6 separate regions of the Homo sapiens genome follow, and regions 1, 3, 4, 5 and 6 are each linked to region 2. The links are contacts of gene promoters, found by promoter capture Hi-C in blood cells and fetal thymus (Javierre and others, 2016). All regions are on one chromosome and are shown on one strand. The core of a region is centred on a gene start or on the middle of the fragment in contact, and the rest is flanking DNA. Distances in the headings are between cores, read along the strand shown.

The links. The method cuts DNA at HindIII sites, captures the fragments that hold promoters and counts their contacts. A CHiCAGO score of 5 or more calls a contact.
Region 1: a contact is called between a fragment that was not itself captured here and the fragment with the promoter of PARP8 in region 2, in 1 of 17 cell types (non-activated CD4 T cells). The highest score is 6.3, in non-activated CD4 T cells.
Region 3: a contact is called between a fragment that was not itself captured here and the fragment with the promoter of PARP8 in region 2, in 6 of 17 cell types (naive CD4 T cells, naive CD8 T cells, total B cells and 3 more). The highest score is 6.2, in naive CD4 T cells.
Region 4: a fragment that was not itself captured here is called in contact with the fragment with the promoter of PARP8 in region 2 in 10 of 17 cell types (non-activated CD4 T cells, naive CD4 T cells, activated CD4 T cells and 7 more); the score reaches 10.9 in non-activated CD4 T cells.
Region 5: a contact is called between a fragment that was not itself captured here and the fragment with the promoter of PARP8 in region 2, in 5 of 17 cell types (activated CD4 T cells, non-activated CD4 T cells, naive CD4 T cells and 2 more). The highest score is 7.8, in activated CD4 T cells.
Region 6: a fragment that was not itself captured here is called in contact with the fragment with the promoter of PARP8 in region 2 in 1 of 17 cell types (total CD4 T cells); the score reaches 6.6 in total CD4 T cells.

Annotation. Positions count from the first base shown.
Region 1 is chr5:50,382,803-50,386,691 of GRCh38, reverse strand. No RefSeq gene overlaps it. Among named protein-coding and RNA genes, the nearest start is that of EMB, 57 kb to the left of the region's middle. The HindIII fragment of the contact is 3,140 bases long and covers 869-3,889 here.
Region 2 is chr5:50,664,912-50,669,060 of GRCh38, reverse strand. PARP8 (poly(ADP-ribose) polymerase family member 8) reads right to left here and starts at 2,424. Exons shown (of 26, transcript NM_024615.4): 1 at 1,875-2,424; 2 at 936-990. The coding sequence starts at 1,965. RefSeq lists silencers at 1,300-1,629, 2,322-2,381, 2,432-2,581 and enhancers at 602-1,801, 1,237-2,149. The HindIII fragment of the contact is 4,109 bases long and covers 39-4,147 here.
Region 3 is chr5:50,337,268-50,341,316 of GRCh38, reverse strand. No RefSeq gene overlaps it. Among named protein-coding and RNA genes, the nearest start is that of EMB, 100 kb to the left of the region's middle. The HindIII fragment of the contact is 1,282 bases long and covers 1,121-2,402 here.
Region 4 is chr5:50,354,868-50,358,617 of GRCh38, reverse strand. No RefSeq gene overlaps it. Among named protein-coding and RNA genes, the nearest start is that of EMB, 85 kb to the left of the region's middle. The HindIII fragment of the contact is 709 bases long and covers 1,548-2,256 here.
Region 5 is chr5:50,314,964-50,318,679 of GRCh38, reverse strand. No RefSeq gene overlaps it. Among named protein-coding and RNA genes, the nearest start is that of EMB, 120 kb to the left of the region's middle. The HindIII fragment of the contact is 1,169 bases long and covers 829-1,997 here.
Region 6 is chr5:50,402,085-50,405,989 of GRCh38, reverse strand. EMB (embigin) reads left to right here. Exons shown (of 9, transcript NM_198449.3): 5 at 138-265; 6 at 2,536-2,812; 7 at 3,671-3,704. Among named protein-coding and RNA genes, the nearest start is that of EMB, 37 kb to the left of the region's middle. The HindIII fragment of the contact is 9,112 bases long and covers 1-3,905 here.

The DNA.
Region 1 (3,889 bases), core at 1,189-3,688, 280 kb after region 2:
CATCAAAACTTAAACTTTTACTCTGAAGGACTTTGTTAAGAGGATGAAAAGACAATCTACACACTGGGAGAAAATATTTGGTAACCGTATATCTTACAGATGATTCATTTAGAATATTTAAAGAACTCTCAAAACTCAACAATAACATCAAAACAAAAATTCTAGCTAGAAAATGAGCAAGAGACATGAACAGGCCAAAGAGGATATATAGATGGCAAATAAGCACGTGCAAAGATGTTCATCACTAGCGATTAAAAACTGCAAATGAAGGCCACAATGAATATCACTACATACATATGAGAATAGCTTAAAACTACTGACAATACCAAATGTTGGTAAGCATACACAGAAATTATCTCTCTTATACATTGTTTGTGGAAGTGTACAGACACTCTGAAAAGTAGTTCAGCAGTTTATTTTTCTTTTTCTTTTTTCTTCTTAATTTATTTTTGAGGCAGAGTCTTGCTTTTTCGCCCAGGCTAAAGTGCAGTGGCACGATCTCGGCTCACTGCAACCTCCGCCCCCCTGGTTCAAGCAATTCTGCTACCTCAGCCTCCCTAGTAGCGGGGATTACAGGGGCCTGCCACCATGCCTGACTAATTTTTGTATTTTTAGTACAGATGGAGTTCACCATGTTGGCCAGGCTGGTCTCGAACTCCTGCTCTCAGGTGATCCACCTGCCTCGGCTTCCCAAAGTACTGAGATTACAGGCATAAGCCACTGCGCCCAGCCGTGGCACTTTCTTAAAGGACTAAACATATATGGCCAATAAATCTCATTCCTGGGCATTTATCTCAGAGGAATGAAAACTTATGTCCACACAAAGAATTGTACATGATTGTTCATAACGGCTTTAGTTATAAAAGCTTAAAGCTGTAAGTAAACAAAATATCTTAAAGTAGGAGGATATTTAAACAAACTGTGGTACATCCATATCTTGGAATATTGCTCTGTAATAAAGAAGAATGAATTGTTGATACATGCAACAATTTGGATGGATTTGAAGGACATTATGCTAAGTGAAAAGCCCATGTCAAAAGATGTGAGTCCATTATATGATGTCCTTGAAAGGACAAAATTACTGAGATGGAAAACAAATTAGTGGTTACCATGGGTTAGGAATGCTGCGGGGGCAGAGAAGTGGGAGTAGATGTGACTATAAAGAGGTAATAATAGGGAGTTCTTTGTGGGAATGGTTTAGTTTTGTATCTTGGTGGTTGTGTGAATCTACATATGTGATAAAAGACATAGAACTAATACATATACATTATAACAAATGTCAATTTCCTTCTTTTGATATTGTACTATAATTACTTAAGATATAAGCATGGGGAGAAACTGAATTAGGTGAAAATGAGAGCTCTCTGTAATATCTTTGCAACTTTCTATGAATCTGTAATTTTTTCAAAACAAAATATTTTAAAATGTTTGAATCAATTCATTAGTCTAAGCATTAAATGGTTAATATTAGAAAAGAATATGGATTTTTTTTACTTCTTTATTATTGGTTTAGGTAGAAAATCAACCTAAACTATCAACTGAAACTATTGGCATAAAAGCAAAGTACAGAGTCAGTTACAAGCCCATGTTCTCAGATGTCTTACCAGATAGTCCTTGCAAGAAAAAAAAAAAAAAGTCTTTCTTATATCTATTTAAATGACAATGCAGGTTTTAAAATGTCCTTTCATCATTGAATGATTGACAATATTTATGTATAAACTTGATAAAGATCATTTGAGAATAATCTTTGTTTTGTGTTACTGTAGCTACATAAGAGAAAGAAATTGTATATATTAAATCTCTCATTGTATCTAGCCATAGCTAAAATAACTGCTTTATAGTGGGAAAAAAAAAGATTATTTTATTTTGGAAATAAGTACATTTTCAAGTTTGAATCAAAACCTTTCACACTTACTAAAATATATCTGTACACACAAAACCCCAGAGTAAATATTCACATTCATGTCACCTCCCTATAATAACTACATTTACTCATATTTATTTCTGTGAATAGGGGTTCTGGAACCATTATAGTAGCTAAAATGTGGTGCAGGAGATAAGAGTGTTTAATCAAGGTTCACAATGATTTGCAATGGCAGGAGACAGTTTGTGGCTAGAGATAACATTCAGCAGCACGTGTTTATGAGTGAGATGGACACCTGTCTGATAGTACCATGAGCCAGCCTGTGTGCTTTGCTGATGCAGGTAGTGCTGAAAGCATTAAAATTGTGCAGTGAAAAAATGTTATGCTTCTAAAACTTTTGAGATTCTGAAAACAATTATCAAATGATACTCTAATTCTGCTTTACGTTCTGAAGTCTCCTGAATTGGGGTAAACAAAAACCTTTAGCCTAAATATAAAATATGGTAATTTAAAACATAAACATAAGTATGTTTATCTAAAGAGAAACCAAAGTTTCTTTTTAATTTTTAGTTTTTTTTTATTGTGGTAGAAACACTGAACTTGAGATTTACTTTCTTAACAAATTTTTAAGTGCACAATACAGTATTGTCAAGTATAGGCACGCTGTTGTACACCAGATCTCTCTTTTTTTTTTTTTTTTTTTTTTTTTTTTTTTTTTTTTGAGACAGGGTCTTGCTCTGTTGCCCAGGCTGGAGTGCAGTGGAGTGAACACTACTCACTGCAGGCTCAATCTCCCCAGCTCAAGCAATCCTCCCACTTCAGCCTCTTGAGTAGTTTGGACCACAGTTGCATGCCACCACATCTGGCTAATTTTTACAATATTTTGTAGAGACAGATTCTCACCTTATTTGTCTTTATATCTTATTTGTCTTGCATAAGTGAAACTTTGGTCAACAACTTCCCATTTACCCTTCCCCCAGCTCCTAGTGACCACCATTTTACTTCTATGAGATTGACTTAACGTTAGATAGCTCAGATAAGTGGCATCATACAGCATTTGTTCTGGCTATCTCACTTAGCACAATATCCTTCAGGTTTATCCATGTTCTTACATATGGTAGAATTTTTTTAAGAGCTAAATAATATTTCACTGTATGTATATATCACATTTTCTTTATCCATTCATCTACTGAGGGACATTTAGATTGTTTTGAAATCTTGGGTGTTGCTAATAATGCTGCAGTGAACGTAAGAATGCAGAAATTCCTTTGAGTTCCTGATTTCAATTCTATTGGATATATACCCAGAAGTGGGGTTGCTGGATCATATAGTTATTCTATTTTTACTTTTGTGAGGAACCTCCATATTGCTTTCCATAGTGGCTGCATCAACTATTCCCATCAACAGTGTATAAGAGTGCCAAGTTTTCCACATCCTCAACAGCACTTGTTTTTTAAGAGTCATCCTAAAGGTGTGAGGTGATTGACATTTCCCTGATGACTAATGATGTTGAATTTTTTTTTTTTTTTTTTTTTTTTTTTTGAGACAGGGTCTCACTGTGCCACCCAGCTGGAGTATAGTGGTGCAAACACAGCTTGCTGCAACCTCAATCTCCTGGACTCGAGTGATCCTCCTGCCTCAGCTTCCTGAGTAACTGGGACTACAGGCGTGTACCACCATGCTTGGCTAATTGTTAAATGTTTTGTAGAGATAGGGTCTCACTATGTTGCCCAGACTGGTCTCGAACTCCTGGGCTCAAGTGATCCTCTCACCTCAGATTTCCAAAGTGTTGGATTATAGGTGTAAGCCACTGAGCCCAGTTTGAATGCTTTTTTATATATTTTTTGGCCATTTGTATGTCATCTTTGGAGAAATGTCTATTCAAATCCTTTGCTCATTAAAATTATTTTCTGATAATGAGTTGTAGAAGTTCCTTATATATTTGGAGATTAATCCATTACTGGATATGTGGTTTGCAAATATTTTAACCCATTCTATAGGCTGCCTTTTCACTCTGTTGATTGG
Region 2 (4,149 bases), core at 1,175-3,674:
ATTTCAAGCTTTTAAAAATGTATGTACACAAGAAAGCTTCTTTTGCAATTTATATGTTTATAAATGTTTCCATTAGCTAAGATATATTTTGGAATGTGATCAAACAATATTGAATGTCAAGTCCTAACAGCAGGGCTGGTCTAAGGAATTCCCTCTAAGCTAAATCTGGTACTTCTCATATGTGGCTACTGCTCTTTTAAACTACTGTGTCCCTAAAGGGCTAAAAGGAAGAAAATCCTAACTCAACAAGTGAAGGTAGCAAGGCATAGTATTTGAATGGCTACCTTTCATTTTAACTCTACTTCCTAAATTCAAAATTGGATTTGGGTTTGTTTCAAGTTGTTCACAATTTACTAACGAAATGTGCATCTCTCATTCTTCCCCCAAAAGAAAGAAGTCATCCACTCCAGCTACATATAAGTCTCCAATTTCTATACGTGAAAACCGAAATACCACTCATTGAAAAAAAAATGTACAGAGAATTGGCAGGCTGCATGTTTATGTAAACCTTCAGAAAACATGGAAACACGCAGCCCCAACTCACCAGGAAAATCAACACTTCTGATCAAACTATTTTGTGACATTTTATGTCTTTTATACATTTCACTTCATATCCAGTATTCCAGTTTTGCACCGGCGTGCCTGTATCAACCCCAAATCGCCTGAGAGCAATCTAGTACTGTAGCAGAACAGTTTCAACATGAAGAGTTCTGCTCATTGCCTGTGGCGTGGTCCTCGAAACACCTGAATCAAACATTGATTCCCCTCCTCCTGCTATTTAAAACCGAGGGACGTCAGGCTTGGGTAGCAGGTAAAGAAAAGCCACAATAATCAAACAAACAAGCAACCAAAATACCCGAACACGGAACACGCTAAGAACAAAGGAAACACAAGAGTGTGAACAGGAAATGAAGCAACTCTATACACATAAATACCTTCTGGGGCCGCCAACGTAGGTAAAAGTAAAGGTGGAGTCAGAGTATCTGAAATCTGAAACAGAAAGTCCCGTCAAAAGCTACCCCTGGAGTGGATTTGTTTTAACCCCGATCAGGACTTGAGCCCCACATTCGGTGGTGTCAGGGGAGGCCTGGCCGGGCAGAAGGCAAGGGCTAGAGGGCGGCGAGGTCCCTCTGCGCCGCGTCCGAGGGGATGCGGCGCGCCCCCGACTGGGTGCAGCGGGAGGCCGCCCCCCGCAACAAGTGCCGGGTGCCATGGCAACAGCGGGAATTTCCCGATAGGGGAGGCCGGAAGCAGCCTCAGCCGGGCTCGCGGTAGCGAAAGCAAAATCCCGGGGGAGCAAAATGGACGAAAGGCGACCCCCAGGCAGGGGCGCTGGGTGCCTTGGGAATCCGAGGAATCCCTTCTCTTTGCCAGTCGGAGGGGACTAGAGGGAGCCGAAGGGGCCGGAGATGGGCCGAGCGCTGCCCCCCGGGGGTCCTCGGCGCCGGGCGCAGCTTACAAGCGCAGCGCAGCGCAGCAGGCTCCATTCCCGGCCGCCGCCGCTCAGCCCATTGCGCAAACCAACCCCGCTCTGCCGCCGCTGCTGGAACCCAGGAAGCGTGCTTGGAGGCTTCGGGCACTACGCGGGGCTGGAAATACCACGCACTGCCCCTTCGCCTAGACCCCCGCTCCGGCCACGCGGGCTCTGCCCTCAAAGCTGGTGGCTGCCTCAGACTTGGCGGTGGGGGAGGGGAAGGGGAGAGGCTGGCGCCCCCTCCCCCTTTTGGCTCCCGCGCTCGTTGCAGCAGCTGTTGCCAAATGAACCCCAGAATGGGGACGTGCAACCCTCCACCCCACCCCCAGCCACAGACGTCGCGGTCAGAAAACTGGGAAGGGGGCGCTGGGTCCGAGGTTCTGGAAAAGCAAGAACTCACCTGCAAACAGGCAGTCCTTCTCAGCTCTGGACTTCTGGATCACGACGTCGATATCCTTCTGAATTCGCTCTTGCCTTGAACACATCCCCATTAAATAAATCCCTGGAAAAGAAGCAGCCGCTATTTCCACCCCACCCCACCCCCCTCGCACGCTTCCAGCTTTCGTAAATATTCAGTTAAAAATGAAACCTCTGGCCGAGGCAGGGGCTGAAGGCGAAGTGGTTTCGGAAGTGATCCTGGGTGAGAGAAGAGGAGGAGGAGGAGGGGGAGGAGGAGGAGGAGGGGGAGGTCGGCTTTGCATTCCCAGATGTGACCGCCCAGCTGCTGCTCGCCGCTGCTGGATTCCAATTTCCTCCCCTTCTGACAATGGATGGTGATGACACCAAGTCTCACTTTCTCCCTCACCCGCCCGGACCAACGGCCGTGGGGGCCGAGGTGCCGGGGACAGCCAGAGAGCAATCACCGGCTGGGCGGCGGGCGCCGGCGAGGGGCGAGCCCCGCTCCGGCTCACGCGCGCACACCCCTCACGGCTCGCACGCCGGCCTTCCACACCCGCGCACACTCGCGCCCGCGGGCGGCGGCAGCCGTGCCCAGGCTGCTGCAGCGCCGCCCGCCCGCCGCAGACCCTCCGCGCCCGCCGCCTAGTCACCCCGCCGGCCGCGGGCTGCCGGGGCTCGCAGAGTATTAGCCATCCCGGGCGGGAGCCGCTTCTCCCCACACCGACCTCCACTCGCGCCGGGAGCTGAGCGGTCGTGAAGACTCCCTGGGGCTCCCAGCCTTCCCTCTCCGCGCCCCTCCCCCCATCACTTTTATGAATTCGACTCCACTTTCTAAAGGAATTATAGTCTTGTGGCAAACCCAAACCGGAGTGGCTGGGAGGGGGAAAAGGGGGGAAAAGAAAATCTTTAAAAATTAAAAAAATAATAAAACGAACAAATCTTTCCTTATTGCCACATCACATAACACGGAAAAGGCCTTAAAATTACTCCAGACGTGCACCCTCCCCTTCCCTCAGTGCCTGAGTCTTTTTCCTCCAGATCGAAGTAGTTCAGCCCTTTTGGGGCGCCGTTTACGAAACACAGCCCCTTTTGAGGGACTTCCTCCTCTTGAAACTCACCAGTTCTCCCTTCCTAGGTGTTTCTGTTCATGAGAAATGGTCAGAATCAACTGGCACGTTCCAGGGTCTTCCTAAAAGATGGAAACCTGTTTGGCTTGATTTTTAAAACCACCTCCTTTGACAGTCAAGGGAAAGCTACAATCCAGGTGTTCAGAAATGAGATACTGCTCTGATTCTCACTTTCTGTTCTGCCTAAGGACACCCCAGGCTGACGTAGCTGCCCCACCTCTATATTGGTTTATGCCCTAGGAGAGGTCTCCAGCAGGCACTTTTCTTGTTGATCTTTTCTCCACTGAGAAGGCTCCCGCCAGTAGACCATGACTCCTTTTGCTTTGCATACTCAGTGCCATGTACAGTGCCTGGAATACAGGAGGGTGGCCTAAATGTTGGCTGAATGCACGAATGGTCATTTCTTGCAGCCTCTTTTCATTACCCTGTCTCATCACTTTTCTTATCAGCATAAGTGCCCAAGAGTTGCCAAACTGTTTCAGACCCTTAATCAATTTAGTTCTGATTCTGACCGTGACAACATGATGTTCAGCACGGTAGGAATGACTGCCATCCCTGAAGGAGTCTTAAGATTCTGTAGAATCAATGAAAGATCCTATGTTCTAACTCCTTTATCTTTCAGGAAACAAATTACAAAATAATTTCCTTGTCCAGTCATATTCACTATGAGTTACAAAAGGAAACATTCTGCATTATTGAGATCCACTGCAGCCTTTGATGTAGTAAAGCCACAGTCACAACAGTCTATATCTCCTGCTCAGTCCTCTCCTGAAATGCTTCCTGTTTAGGGTAGGACAGGTTCAAGCCCTTTGTCCTTCCTGGATATGTTGCTTTGTGTAGGCCCTTTGGCTGCCAAAAATGCTCTCTTCTCTTCCACATCACCACTGAGAATCATGAGTATTTCTTCTTCCATTATGTGCTTTAATTTCTCTGAAAGGCTGAAAGTCTATTAACTCACAAGAATTTATTTTATAGTTATCTAGCCACAAGGCTTGCATCTTCCAAGTAGAACCCTTACTACAAATAAATGTGAAATAGTTTTAAAGCTACCAAATATTTTTTTGTCTGGATGAGCTCTTAGTTTACTACTCACTCCTTAAAATAGGCCTTCTTGTGACTTGTCCTATATTTGATTTTTTTTTAAGCTTC
Region 3 (4,049 bases), core at 512-3,011, 330 kb after region 2:
ACATATACATTGTGAAATGATTACCACAATTAAGCTAAAAAACATATCCATCACCTTATGGTTACCTTTTTTTTTTCTGGTGAGAAGATTTAACATCTACTATCTTAGCAAATTTCAAGTATATAATACAGTAGTGTGAACTATAATCCCTCTGCTATATATTAGATCCCCACAATTTGTTTATCCTGCATAACTGAAATTGTACTCTGTGCCCACCATCTCCTCTTTCCCTATCACCATCCCCCAGCCCCTGGAAACTACCATTCTACTCTCTCCTTCTATGAGTTTGACTTTTTAAGATTCCACATACGTGAGATCATCAGTATTTTTCTTTCCATGTCTGGCTTATTTCACTTAGTATAACATTATCCAGGTTCATCTATGTTGCCCCAAATGACAGATGACAGGATTTCCTTTTTTTAATAAGGCCGAGTAATATTCATATATGTGTGTGTGTGTGTGTGTTCATTGTGAACAATGCTGCAATGAAGATAGGAGTGCAGATATCTCTCCAACATACTGATTTCCTTTCATTTGGATATATACCCAGAAGTGAGATTGCTGGATTACATGGTAGTTCTATTTTTAATTCTTTGAGGAATCTTCATACTATTTTCCATAATTACTGTAGCAATTTACATTCCCACCAACAGTGTACAAGGATTCCTTTTTCCCACACATTCCCCAACACCTGCTTTCTTTTATCTTTTTAATAATAGCCATTCCAACAGGTGTGAAGTGATATTTCATTGATTTTAATTTGCATTTCTTAGATTATTAGTGATGTTGAGCACTTTTTAATATACCTCTCGGCCATTTTTTTGTCTTATTTGGTGAATGTCTATTTACAGCCTTTATCCATTTTTAAATTGGGTTATTTGTATTCTTGCTATCGATTTGTTTGAATTGATTATATACTTTGAATATTATCCCCTTATCAGATGTATCATTTGTAAATATTTTCTCCTGTTTTGTAGGTTTTCTTTTCACTTAATTGTTTCCTTTACTGTGCAGAAACTTTTTAGATTGATGCAATTTCATTTGTCTATTTTTGCTTTTATTGCCTGTGTTTGTGGGGTTACATTTTAAAAATAATTTCCCAAACCAATGTCAAAAAGCTTTTTCCTTATTTTTTCCTCTAGTAGTTTTACAGTTATTTAAGTCTTTATTTTGAGTTAGTTTTCTATAGGTATGAGGTAAAGGTCCAGTTTTATTATTTTGCATGTAGATACACAGTTTTCCCAACACCATTTATTGAAGAGACTGTTTTTCCCCCATTGTATGCTCTTGACAGATCCGTGGAAGATCAATTGACAATAAATAAGTGGATTTATTTCTGGGCTCTCTATTCTTTTCCACTGGTCTGTGTGTCTGATTTTATCCAGTCCCATGCTGTTTTGATTCCTGCAGGTTTGTAGTATATTTTGAAATCAGGTGATGCAATGTCTCCAGCTTTCTTTTCCTTGTTTAAGATTGATTTGGCTAAGGTCTTTTCTGGATTCATATGAATTTTAGGATTGTTTTTTCTCTATCCATGAAAAATGTCACTGAAATTTTAATAGAGATTGTATTGAATCTATAGAACAGTTGGGTAGTGTAGACATTTTAATATTAATTACTCTAATCCATGAATACAAGATATCTTTGGATTTGTGTCTTCTTCAATTTCTTTAATTTATATTTTAATATCATTTTCAGTGTACAGATCTTTCATCACCATGGTTGAATTTAATTGCTTTTTAATTTTTTCATGCAATTGTGAATTAGATTGTTTTAGTAATTCTTTTTTTGAATACTTTGTTGCTAATGTATAGAGATGCAATTGATTATTTCTAACAGTTTTTTAGTAGAGTTCTTAGGGTTTTCATAACCATTGTTATTGGTCTGTTCAGATTTCCTATTTCTTCACGATTCATTCTCAATAGGTTATATGTGTCTAGGAGTTTCTCACTTCTTATAGGTTATTCAATTTTTGGCAAATAATTGTTCATAGTAGTCTTTTATGATCCTTTCTATTTCTTTAGTATCATTTGTGATGTCTCTTCTTTCATTGAAAATTTTATTTTAATCTTCTGTCTTTTCTTTTTAGTTAGTCTAGCTAAAGGTTTATCAATTTTGTTTGCCTTTCAAAAATAAATACTTGGTTTTATTGATTTTTTCTATTATTTTTCTATTCTCTACTTCATTTATTTCTGCTTTGATCTTTATTATTTCCTTTCTTCTACCAACTTTGGTCTTAGTGTGTTTTTTTATGTTTCCTTGAAGTGTAAATTTAGGTCATCTATTTTAGATTTTTTTCTTAATGTAGGCATTTATTGATATAAACTTCCTCATTAGACCTATTTTTGCTGTATCCCATAAGTTTTGGTATGTTGTGTTTCCATTCTTGTTTATGTCAAGCTTTTTTTAAAAATGTTTCCTTTTGATTTCTTCTTTGATCCATTGGTTGTTCAGAAGCCTTTGCCACTTAATCTGAAATAAAAACCATACTCTTTCCTCCACAACAATCACTCATTCCTATATAGTATGTTGCAGTTATATCAAATGGTAAATTTTATTTATTTATATTTATTTACTTTTGCTTCAGTCCCTTTGGAATTGTTGAAGAAGCAAAATATAGTGTATAGCTTGATAATAGTGGTGGGGTATGTCCATAGCAGCCCTGTGTCCCCTGACACATTGCATTGATGAATACATTCTTGTATCACCATCCTCTTTCCTTTTCTCTTTCTCTCATTTTTCATAATTCTTATTTGAAGAGGATGAAGAAAAGGGAGACAATGAAGAATCCATGGAGGAAAGGAGAAAAGAAGACAGAGAAAATATAGTGCTATGGTTTGAATGACCTCCAGAAGTCATGGGACGAAACTTAATTGCAAATGTGATTGTGTTACAACGTGGAGTCTTTAGGAGGTGATTAGGTCAGGAGTGTGCAGCCCTCCAGGATGGGATTAAAGTCCTTATAAAAGAACTTGAAGAAATTGGGTTGCGACCTTTGTCCCTTCCCCCAAGTGAGGACACATTTGTCACCTCCAGAGGATGCAGCAACAAGGTGTCAGCTCAGAAGCAGAGAGCAGCTCTTACCAGGCACCAATCCTGCCAATGCCTTGATCTTGGACTTCCAAGTATCCAGAACTGTGAGAAACAAATTTCTATTTTTTATAAATTACCTCTTCTCAGATATTTTGTTATAGCAGCACAAACAAAGATACGTAGTCACTGTTCACGTAGGCTGTATGTTTATGGAGTTGGTGTTGTTGCAGTCAACCAAATCAGATCTCTAAAGAATAAGTCTACAGAATGACAGAATGCTGCATTTATTTTCTTCTAGAGACATTCTCTCCTCAGGTGTCCCAAGTTCTTAGATGACCACTTTGAATTCTGTCAGTTTGACGATTTTTCCTCCTCAACTTGTGGAAAATTCACATGTCACCAATACATCATGATCATGAAAGGATTCACACATCCCTGCATTATGTGGTTCAGAGACCCAGGGAGAGTTATAGAGCACAGACTCTTTCAAAAAACAAACAAACAAACAAACAAACAAAACACAAGAAAGCCAATATAGTGTTTATATTTATTAAATATTTATTAAAGGTAAAGGATTGCCTTTTATTCTGATATTATGTCTTTCCTAAATTTTGCTGTTACTATATATTTTATGAAATGATGGCTACAAAAGATAGTTGCTTTGTAAAATTGTACATGGCAAAATAAAAAGTTTCCACCCCTAAGTCTGTGTGTGTCTGTTTGTGTGTGTCAGTGTGTGTGTGTATAAACTTGGAAGTTTGTTGTGGGGTCTGAAGGATGTGAGGTATCCTTTTCTCTATACTTACATACAGAATTGTTTTTTTTTCCTATCAAAGCCCTGTGTAGTCTACACCCTTCCTACAACAAGAATGTAAATCAAATAGCAAACATTTGGAGGTAATGACATAGTAGACTCCAGCAATGGCATTTCTGATGTGATGAGCAGTAAGTATTTCAGATGACAAGAAAATCTCCCAGTATTATAATTTTTAGATGTAAGCAGTAATTACAAGACC
Region 4 (3,750 bases), core at 653-3,152, 310 kb after region 2:
TTAAAATAGAAGATAGGTGTACAGGGCTAGGAGTAAGATTTGGCTGCTGAAGGCACAAAATTAAATTTAAGACATATCGTGAAGATTTTTGAATAAAATCTAGAGAAGCTTATATTATCTTCTGCAATAATTAAGAGCCTATAGATGAAACACAACTTTTTAAAAAGTACTATATTAGTCTGTTCTCACACTGCTAATAAAGACATACCTGAGACTGGGTAATTTATAAAGAAAAGAGGTTTAGTTGACTCACAGTTCAGCATGACTTGGGAGGCCTGAGGAAACTTACACGCATGGCGGAAGGGGAAGGAAACACGTCCTTCTTCACAGGGCAGCAGCAAGGAGAAGTGCCAAGCAAAAGGGAGAAAAGCCCCTTATAAAACCATCAGATCATGTGAGAAATTGCCAGTATCATGAAAACAGCATGAAGGTAACCACCCCCATGATTCAATCACCTCCCACCTGGTCCCTCCCATGACACCTGGGAATTATGGGAACTACAATTCAAGATGAGATTTGGGTGGGGACACATCCAAACCATATCAAGTAAACTGATGGAATTGGAATAGCCAAAGTAATGGTGGTCATCTCAATTAAAATCTCCCAACATACTCTTCAAAACAATACAATTCAATATGAAAAACAACAGAGAAACCCACAAATCTCAAGTAAAAAACAGGGAACACCACTGCTTCAAATTACCTGTAAGTAGAACTATAAACATCACTTTCGTAGAGTTGTTTGCTGAGCTTCCACTGACCTTTGCAGAGAGTAAGGGGTAGGCATCTTGAAAAACCAAGTGGAAGATAGGAGAAGCAAAAGGAGGGCTTATGACTGAGCTAACATTACCACTAGAAAAAAGAAAGCCCATGTTAAGTGCCAAAATACTGAAAAAGAGCCTTGTATATCAGTATATTGGCTACAGATAAGGGATCTAAAAAGGATACAGTCTTGGAAAGCTATTTCTTCTGGGAAGAATAAGGGAAGAAAGAAGAGAGAGTCAGACTTTGAAAATTGTGCAGTGAAGAGACAAACAGAGCAAGTGGGGACTTAAAGTACTGAAAGACAAAAGAAAAGTCAAAAATCACAGAGCAAAACCTGCCTGGACAACATAGCTAGACTCTGTCTCTACAAGTTTTTTTTTTTTTTTTTTTTAAGTTAGCCAGGTGTGGTGGTGCTTGTAGTCCCAGCTTCTCGGGAGGCTGAGTTAGTAGGACTGCTTGAGCCCAGGGGTCAAGGCTATAGTGAGCTACAATTGTACCACTGCCCTCCAGCCTGTGCTATAGAGCAAGACCCTGTCTCAAATAAATAAATAAAATAACAGAGCACAAAACATAAAACCTGTCCTCTAAGTGCCATCAATTAAAGAAATTGCACTTTCCCACCATGACAAAATGTGGGGTAGGCCTTCTTTAAGAATGCTTTAAATCACCCTAAGTCAAGAGTCCTGTCCATGAAATTCATGGCAAAATAAATTTTGACTTCCAGAAAGACACTATCCGAGAAAACTAAAAACAAGAATCAAACTATCTTAGCTAATGAAAGCTTCTCCCTCCCACCACACACAGCAGAAATGTTACCAGTATTGTGAAATACATTACATATTCTCAAACATTTGCTAATATTAAAAAAACCAATAATCTTAGGTTAGTAATTTTAGAAAGGACAGAAATGTACCCAAACCATCAAGAAATAAAATGGTATTTGATTGATCTTAGGAAAGATATAGAAGATAAAGAGAAAATTTTATAATAATAAGACTAAATTACAAGATGCCGAGAAACAAAAGTAGGAAAACATCAAAGAGAATAAAAATTGAGATAAGAAAGAAGTAAATTGGGCCAGAGAAACAGTGGTTGAAATATGCAAGCAAAGAAGATCCACATAAGCATAATTTGAAGTTATTGAAGAAGAAAAACAAAACACGGAAACAAAACTAGTATTTATATATATAAGACAGGAACAATTTCCAGAAATAAAATGACATTAATCAGCAGAGCTACCCAATTACCTGTGGAGATCGAATCAGAAAAATCAAACCATAGACATATTTTTATAAAACAATTAAACTTTAAAAATAAAATATGACCAAGGCCCCCTGCCTCAGCCTAAATAAACAAGCAAACAAATAAATACATTTCATGAAAATTAGACTATCAGCCTTCTCAAAACAGCATATAAATAAAGACAACAATGAGTAACATTTTCAGGACACCATTTTCAGGACACTCAAGGAAAGAATGTCTGAACAAAGCTTTTTTACCTAGGTAAGCTATCCTTCAAGTGTGAAGGCTATAAATAAAAAATTTAAAACATTCAAGATATTGAGGTTTATTTCTTGAGCATTCTAAGAGAAGATGAGCTTTATCCAATCAAAGGGTAACAGACGAAATTTCAGCAAAAAAACCCTGCTGATATGTATTTAGTATTTTAAATTGATGATCTGAAACTAAAACAAGGGTGGAGATGAGTAATAAAATATAATATAGTAATATACCTTTGGACAGAAGAAATAATACGGCTAAAAAGGGGACAAGGGAGTGGCAAAAAGGCAAGTAGAATAAATTGATTAATTTTTGCGTAGGCAATAGGTATAGTCAAAGTATAGCATCACAAACTGACCAGCCAGTAAAAGGTTAGATAAGAAAATGAGAACAAAGGGGCAATTTAAAAGTGTAAAGATAGCCATTAGGACAGAAAATAAAATGTTATTTCAGTTTTAAAATAAACAAATAAAGAGAACATATTACATAGAGAAATCAAATAGAACAGATATTGTAATTATAACTTAAATAATTGGGCAGGGTAGAGACTAAGCATATCAATCATCTTAATAAATGTGTATGGGCTTAACCTACTTATTGAAAGGAAGAGATTCTCAGTTTAACTCAAAGCAAAATTCAACTGTTTAATGCATATAAGAACAAACCTAAACAAAAGGATTTGGAAAGGTTCAAAACAAAGAGAAGGACAAAGGAATTACAGGCAAATGGAAATAATAAGAAAGTGTAGATTGAAATTCTGATATCAGACAAGTAGAATTCAAGTCAAAAGTTATTATATAGGACAAAGAAAGGCACATTTCATTTCAAAATAAAAAATATAATAATTATGATCACCAATGCACCAAATAACTACCCTTATGAAGCAAGCACTACAGGCAATGTAAGAAGACATTGGTAGAAACATACTGAATATTAGAGACTTTTATACATCTCTCTTAGTTTAAGATGACAAGTAAGTATATAGACCTGAACAACAAAATCAACTAGATACATCTTATAGTTAGATATTGATCTCTATGCCCTGACAAAAGAGAATAGACTAATAACATTTTCTAACAATGCAATAAAACTAGAAACTAGTTACAAGATATAAAAATCAAAAGGGTATTTCCAACAGTAATAAAAATCTTCTATTGATAAACTCTTTTGTTGTTTTAAAATAAAAGTTTTATTGTTATTTAGGTATGGCAAGGCGAAGAGATCAAGAGAGGACTGCCATTGGAAAGACAGTTTGTTATATACACAGATCCCAGGAGGAGGGGCCATGCCTTGCCATGGGGAGGCCACATGGGGAAGCACCAGAATGGTCAGGATGCAGGTGGAGTGGGAAAATGTGGGCAAGAGAGTTTATTGTGGTTTCTGTAGAAAGGGACAGGCAAGACAAGGTAAGCAGGTTTAGGATGGGCTAATTTGAGTAATTCTAGTGGGCCCTGGGACATAGGGACTGCCCCAAGTTGTTTGGTAC
Region 5 (3,716 bases), core at 164-2,663, 350 kb after region 2:
TATCCCATGACCAAACTCTTACAACAGTCTATCAAGGCTAAATGACCATATATCCTAGTTCCACACAAAGTTGTTCTTTCTTTTCTTTCTTTTTTTGAAAAGTGGGACTTGTTGGGTGTTTGATGGCAGAAATAACACTTATTTTTTGGAGAAAGAACTAATATTCTCAAAACATGCAAAACACATGTTCTTTCTCTAGAGAAGCTACCTTATGGATTTCACCATAGTCCCATTTTCACAAACTTTTCTTAAACTGCTGAATAAACATAAAATATTTTTGTATAACACATTATCAATGGAGAACATCTGAATTATCTTGAATTCATAAACTAAAAAGGAATGATTTGTGTCACTTTAACTGTCCCTAAAAATATTTTATATAATTCTATATTTTAAAACTCCCCACTGAATACAGTGTGATCTGCCAAACGATGGATAGAAATCTCTTTCCTATGACATGGTCTTTAAGTGGACTCATAATAATTGTTTTGAGACTCAAAGATTAATGGTTTGACATTGCTGTGTGTATTCAAAGAATCTTCTCTTCATTAGTATGTATCTGTAATTTTCTGATTCTGTCCCCTCTCTTGTTTTACTCTACTCAAGAGCCCATTTCTGAAATGTTTAGAGGCTTCCCTCATATGAACAAGTTGTGTAGCTACTTGACTATGTTCATTTCTCCAAGATCTGTTATCTTGAGCCCAATTTTGGCTTTTCTCCTTCTTTGTATTTCCTTTCTGTAATGTAACCATCATGCTTCATATTCTTATCTTCTATTGTGAATTGGATATCAGCTTGTGAAGTATTTGTTAGAAGGAGAAGTAAGCTTTCATTTATATACCCAAATGATTCCTCCATAGGTTACTTTCCAGTAATAATAATACATTTGTATTCCTTTCTCTACTATTTCTTCCATTCTTTTTTTTAATTTTTGTTTTAGATTCTGGGTTACATGTGCAGGTTGGTTATATAGGTAAATTGTATGTCACGGGGGTTTGGTGTATAGATTATTTTATCACCCAGATAATAAATATTGTATCTGATAGGCAGTTTTTTTTATCGTCTTCCTCCTCCCATGATCCATGCTCAAGTAGGCCCTGGTGTCTGTTATTCCTTCTTTGTGTCCACGTGTTCTCAATGTTTAGTTTCCACTTATAAGTGAGACGTGTTATTTAGCTTTCTGATCCTGTGTTAGTTCTCTTAGGATAATGGCTTCCAGCCATGTTGCTGCAAAGGACATAATAATAATATTTCTATGGCTGTGTGTTCATGGGATATATGTACTATATTTTCTTTAACCAGTCTACCATTCATAGGCATTTAGGTTGATTCCATGTCTTTGCTACTTTGAATAGCACAGCCAGAATCTATAAGGAACTTAAACAAATTAAGAGGCCAAAAACAACCCCATTAAAAAGTGGGCAAAGGATATGAACAGACACTTTTTGACAGAAGACATACATCTGGCCGACGAGCATATGAAATAATTCCCAGTGTCACTAATCATTAGAGAAATGCAAATCAAAACTGCAATGAGATACCATCTCACACCAGTCACAATAAGATATCATCTCACACCAGTTTTTACTTTTATTAAAAGGTAAAAAATAACAGATGCTGGAGAGGTTGTGGAGAAAAGAGAACACTTACACGCTGCTGGTGGGAATGTAAATTAGTTTTTCCTTCCATTCTGTTGATTTTTCTCATGTTTACAGTTTGGCCAGATGGAATCAGGGTCACACTCAATAAAACAGGTCCTTTGAGGGCAAAGACTCACCCTATCTAAGCACTGATTTTTCCTTACATTGTGGGTCCAGGCCTGGCCGGTCCTAAGCACTTAATAAATGATTGAATGAATAACTACCTACAACTTCTGGATGAGGAAAAAAAGAAGCTAATTGGTCCACGAGGGAACTAAACTTGTAACCTTAGCTTCATTAGTACAGGACTCTATTCAAATATAATTGTTTGGATCCTATGTATTTCATAAAGAAGCTTTTAGCACCAACAATTTGAATGTCCTATTTCTCAAATATCACATTTTTTTTCTCTTACCACTTGGCAAATCAAAATGTACAAACATTTTAAAATAAAAATTGAGCTTGGACAAGAGGAACTAACCATGCCTGTCAGGATGCTGGCTCAAGTCTCTGCATGAAGTCTGACACAGCAAGTGCTTTTTTGGGCCCTAAAGTTGTTGAAGAGCATGAATTACAACTTAAGCATACAGCCTTCTGGGGAGAAAGCCAGCCACAGATAGTGTCACGCTAGGAAGGGACATTCCTTGTCAGAGAGGGAGGCATCAAAGCTACAAAGAATTTGAGAGTCTTGCCTGTATTGCCTTGTCTGTTCCTCATTCAAACTCCCCTCTTTCACTGAGCATCAACAATGAAAAAAATCCCCAGTTGGAGACCCAGAAGGTTCCCAGTTCCTGAAGTTACCGTGATCTAGAAAAAAATATTCTAAATATAGTGGGTTTTTTTCTAACTATAGTAAAATCACAAGTTTCTCAATAACACCTCCTTTCCAGGAAAGCAACAACGCTGAGAGAATGTGACATTTGGATAACAGTATCTTATTGTTTACCACACCTAGAAAGAATAAACTACTCCATGCATTTAAAAATTTTTGAGTAAGTGTGAAGGGTTCTTCCAGTTTTAACATTTTGCAATTCTAAAAGTAGGATATTCTTTAATGGTTGAAATAATAATAGTCATTGGTCGGGCGTGGTGGCTAATGCTTGTAATCCCAGCACTTTGGGAGGCCAAGGCATGTGGATCATGAGGTCAGGAGATTGAGACCATGCTGGCTAACATGGTGAAACCCCGTCTGTACTAAAAATACAAAAAATTAGCTGGGCATGGTCGCGAGCACCTGTAATCCCAGCTACTTGGGAGGCTGAGGCAGGAGAATCGCTTGAACCTGGGAGGTGGAGGTTGTAGTGAGCTGAAATCGCACCACTGCACTCCAGCCTGGGTGATGGAGTGAGACTCCATCTCAAAAAAAAAAAAAAAAAAAGGGGGGTCAATGTTTAATGAGCATTTTGCACATGCCAGACACTCTAAGAAACATGCCTTATTTCATCTTATTTTCAGAAAACATCTCGTAAGAAGGTTTGCTCTTATGCTTCATTGCCAAGTGGGAAAGTGAAGCATCATGTGATAGTGCTTTGCTCAGGTTTTCAGATAGGGAAGGTAGAACTGGGCTTTGAATTCAGACAGTTTGATTCAAGGGCCCGAGTTGCAGGCACTCTGTACTACAACCCAAGTGTTGAAAACTTGCGTTTGTTTCTACAAGATTTTACCTGAAATAATTTCAGGTTGTGTAGATTCAGTGGAAATTCTAAAGATCGTTTTTCTGGGATAAGAAAACAGATTATAACTTCTTCATGGACTCCACTTGCCCTCCCAAAACTTAAAAACATGAGCGAAAGGAAAAGGGGGAAACAAAGAACCAACTCAATAAATTTACTAATACCATCTCCACAGGGTCAATAGCATACATTAATTTTAAATGGCAGCAAACAAACAAGGAAAAGTAAAACAAAACTGTTGGTGAAGAATAAAACATACATTTCCAAACAGAATAGAAAAGCACAGCCTGGTGTTTTTCCTCACTCTCTCCCCAAGTCCACAAACACTCTTGGGTATGGATATGAATTTCCACTCATGTCCCCAAACCTGGTACAAAATAAAGTGTTGATCCTTCTTCCCCTC
Region 6 (3,905 bases), core at 1,026-3,525, 260 kb after region 2:
TTAGTTTCATTGATATATAACTGAAAGTACTTAAAATAATGTAATGAAAAAATGAAAGGAGACAATATTTGCACATTTAATACATTTCCTTTACCTAAACTCTTTCAGTAACATACATTTCTCTATTTTATTCTCAGTCCCTGAACTTCATGGGAAAAACAAGCCATTGATCTCTTACGTAGGGGATTCTACTGTCTTGACATGTAAATGTCAAAATTGTTTTCCTTTAAATTGGACCTGGTACAGTAGTAATGGGAGTGTAAAGGTAAGATAGTTCCTTGATTTGAAGAAAACAACAACAACAGAAAACATTTATTTAAAAAATAACAAGATTGTAACAGACTCAGCATTCCTAAGATGATTTATACTTTTGTTATCTTGTTGTTTAGCTTATGTTCATAAAGAAAGAGCAGTGACAAACAGAGTTGTCATTTGATGGTTTTTGGCATGTTTACGTTATACATATGAAGATACTCTTAACGTTTCATTAGCTGGTAGTTTGTTTTTTAGGTTTAACAATTTAATTACATTCTTTGAAAAGAAATTACATTTTGTGTGTAGTTGCCTAGTTTAGAAATAACCCCATTAGAAAATATTCTTTTTAAAAATCATTCCATGAAAGTAACTAGAAAAAATGCTAGACATCTTTTTGGGCTTCTGTCTCCTGAAACATCTGTGATAGAATGCAAAATAGTGGCACTATTTGAGAAAATAATGAAAACTTTGTAACTTAATCTTACATCTTAGGTTCTATCAGAAAGTGTCATTGGCCTTTTCAAGCTACCTGAGAGAAGCCAAATACTTTTAATTCCTTTTTTACTGAGAGAAATCGCTATTCAAAGAGCTGATATTAAGAAAAACATGAGTATTTTATAAATAATTTCTGGTTTCCTTTCTTCTCCCCAAATAGCCTCTAATGGCAGGAAAATTTAGGACATTGTCCTTTAAGAGACACCCTTCCTTTGCCCTGGCACTAAGAAGCATTACAATTAAAGTCCCGTTAAAGGCAAGCTATAATTGTAGAAGGAACATGTGAGACAGTGTAGATGTTACAATGAAATATTAAATTCCTTCTTAGGCAAAATTGGTGTTATTATAGACTATTGAAGGATGACAGATGATTCAGAAGGGAGTGTGACTTATTCTGTGCTAACAGGTTTAGTTTTTCAATGAAATAGTTCCAACCAAATCCCATAGATGCAGACTGAAGCCATTCCTACTCCTTTATGTCTTCTGATGGATGATGAGGAAAGGCAGTCATTGTGTATATGTAATTTTTTTTTAAAAAGTGTAATTTTGTAAAAACAAATGTCAACTATGGTATTTGAAATACACAGCTTTATTTATTGATGTGTATGTGGTACAACAATATGTGAAAAACATTAGCCTTCATCTAATTATATCAGATGTTGAAAATGTCGTTTTAGACGTACCAGTGCTTTTGTCCATTGCTATACTAGTCATTATCCTCTTAATTTGACTCTAAGCATGAGTCTTATTAGGATGTGAGAAAAGTTTGGGGAATAGGATGCAGGTCAAAACTTGAGCACAAGTGCCTTTTCAAAATGTAGACCAACCATGTGCATCAGAATCAGCTGGGTACTTATTAAAAATATGGTACTTTGATTGATTAGCTCTGACCAATCTGTACCAAACATTCCAGGCAGTGTTGTGCACATGGTGCCAGGTTGCTGTAATTTTTTTTGCACGAATAATATACTCACAGATAATTATTCCTTGGATAAGCTCTGAGAATATTTGTATGCAGATTAGCATTTATTGAATAGCACGGTTGAGTGATGGAGCAGGAAAAGCATCAAATGGCTTGGGAATAAAATTTAATTTAAATAGATTAAATAAAACAGCCCCAAATAGCTTAATATGGCACCTTGTGAGGCTGTGGAAAACCCAGCAAATCTTAGAAGCCAGCTTATCTGAGTGAGAAAGAAATTCAGATATGAAAAGACAGAAGGTGTGCAGTTCACTTCGGATCCCAGGCTCACAGAGGGTCCCCTCCATTCTATCTACATCAGCTCCAAAAGCCTGAGAGTTTCATCTTCATTTCTAGCCTGGGGAAATCACATTGTCTGAGTGAGCGATTTTCCTTTATAGAAATGATCAGAAATAGTAGCTTCCGGGGTGGTAGTTGTTTGAATATGTGCCTGTGCTTGTGAAGGAAAAAGTACTTTAAAGCACTAGGCAAGGATAGGAATGTGAGACTCAGATGATTGGGATTTTTCTGTTTTTAATTCTTCTATAATATTTATTCATGATGACCTATTTGCTTCTTTGTAGTTTTAAACATTCACTGCTAAATCCTTATAGCAATGTATATATTTTTTCTTTGTTTGCTCCCTGGGAGATCAAACTCTGATAAGACTTAAGTCTGTTATAGATAACCTCTCACAAACTTTAATATGCCTTTCTCTAGTAAGCAATATTGTTGGCATTATCTTATAGCTTTCACTGAAAAACTATGTCATGTATCTTTTATGTGCTATGATAGGAATGGATTTTAATGTCTCCTCATATTAGGTTCCTGTTGGTGTTCAAATGAATAAATATGTGATCAATGGAACATATGCTAACGAAACAAAGCTGAAGATAACACAACTTTTGGAGGAAGATGGGGAATCTTACTGGTGCCGTGCACTATTCCAATTAGGCGAGAGTGAAGAACACATTGAGCTTGTGGTGCTGAGCTATTTGGTGCCCCTCAAACCATTTCTTGTAATAGTGGCTGAGGTGATTCTTTTAGTGGCCACCATTCTGCTTTGTGAAAAGTACACACAAAAGAAAAAGAAGCACTCAGGTGGGATTTCTTTTTTTTGTTTTTTGTTTTTTTTAGAAAGTATTATCAGTTAATTATAAGTATCATTTACTTATGATATGGATTATGATTTGATACATTGCAATGACTTTAGGATTTTTGGGGAAAATCTTCATTTTCTTATTTGGAGCAGTATTTAGGTTTACAACAATGGTGACAGTGAGCTGGAAACATATACCCATGGTCTTCCTGTTTCAATTCCTGAAAAAACTTAGTATTAAAAATGCCTTTTTTCTTTCTCTTCCCCCACCACCCCCCTCTTTTTTTTTTTTTTTTTTTTTTTGGTGCTACTGGTACCTAAGTACCAATTAGGTGATATGTATTCTGGCACTGGAATATTAGAAAAATCTATGATAGCTTAATATAAAAAGTCTAAAAGAAACAATTTTTCTTTCACTTAGATTATCATTTAAAAAAATATTTTATTAACCATTCCAGAGTTCTCATTAAAGAGAGACCATCCTGTCATGTCCTATTTTTGCGGCCTGTGCCTGATGGGTTACAGGTTGATAAAGCAGTAATCCTCTAGAAAATTGACCTTACGTCCTGTATTCTTTCCTGATTTTATACTAAATTTTTAATGATTTAAATAATGACAAACTAAGCAGTCATGTTTTTGAAAATACCAGGCCACTAAACTATGTTTGATCAGAAATGCAGATAAGGTCTGTAGTGCAGATAAAGGAGGTGTAGGTGTTTAAGGTAGCATGTCTCTCCTTCATTCCAAACAGGAGAAACAGCATAGTACTTACTTACTTAGGAAGGAGGTTTAATTGAGCATATATGTTCCATAAAAGTGACAAACCAACTTCACAGTCAAATTCTTCTTTTGTTACACAGATGAGGGGAAAGAATTTGAGCAGATTGAACAGCTGTAAGTATTATTTTTTACAGATTAATTTTCACTTGGGTAAAATACAGGGAAACATAAAATTGAATGAAATGTTTGCAGTTAGGGGGAGAAAAGGCAGAGGAGTATTTTCTGTATATGTCCACGTGGTGGTGGAAAGTGGCTTTCCAAGTCTGCCTACCTGCGTGAGAATTCTTCTTCATCACTTACTACCTGCACTTCTCT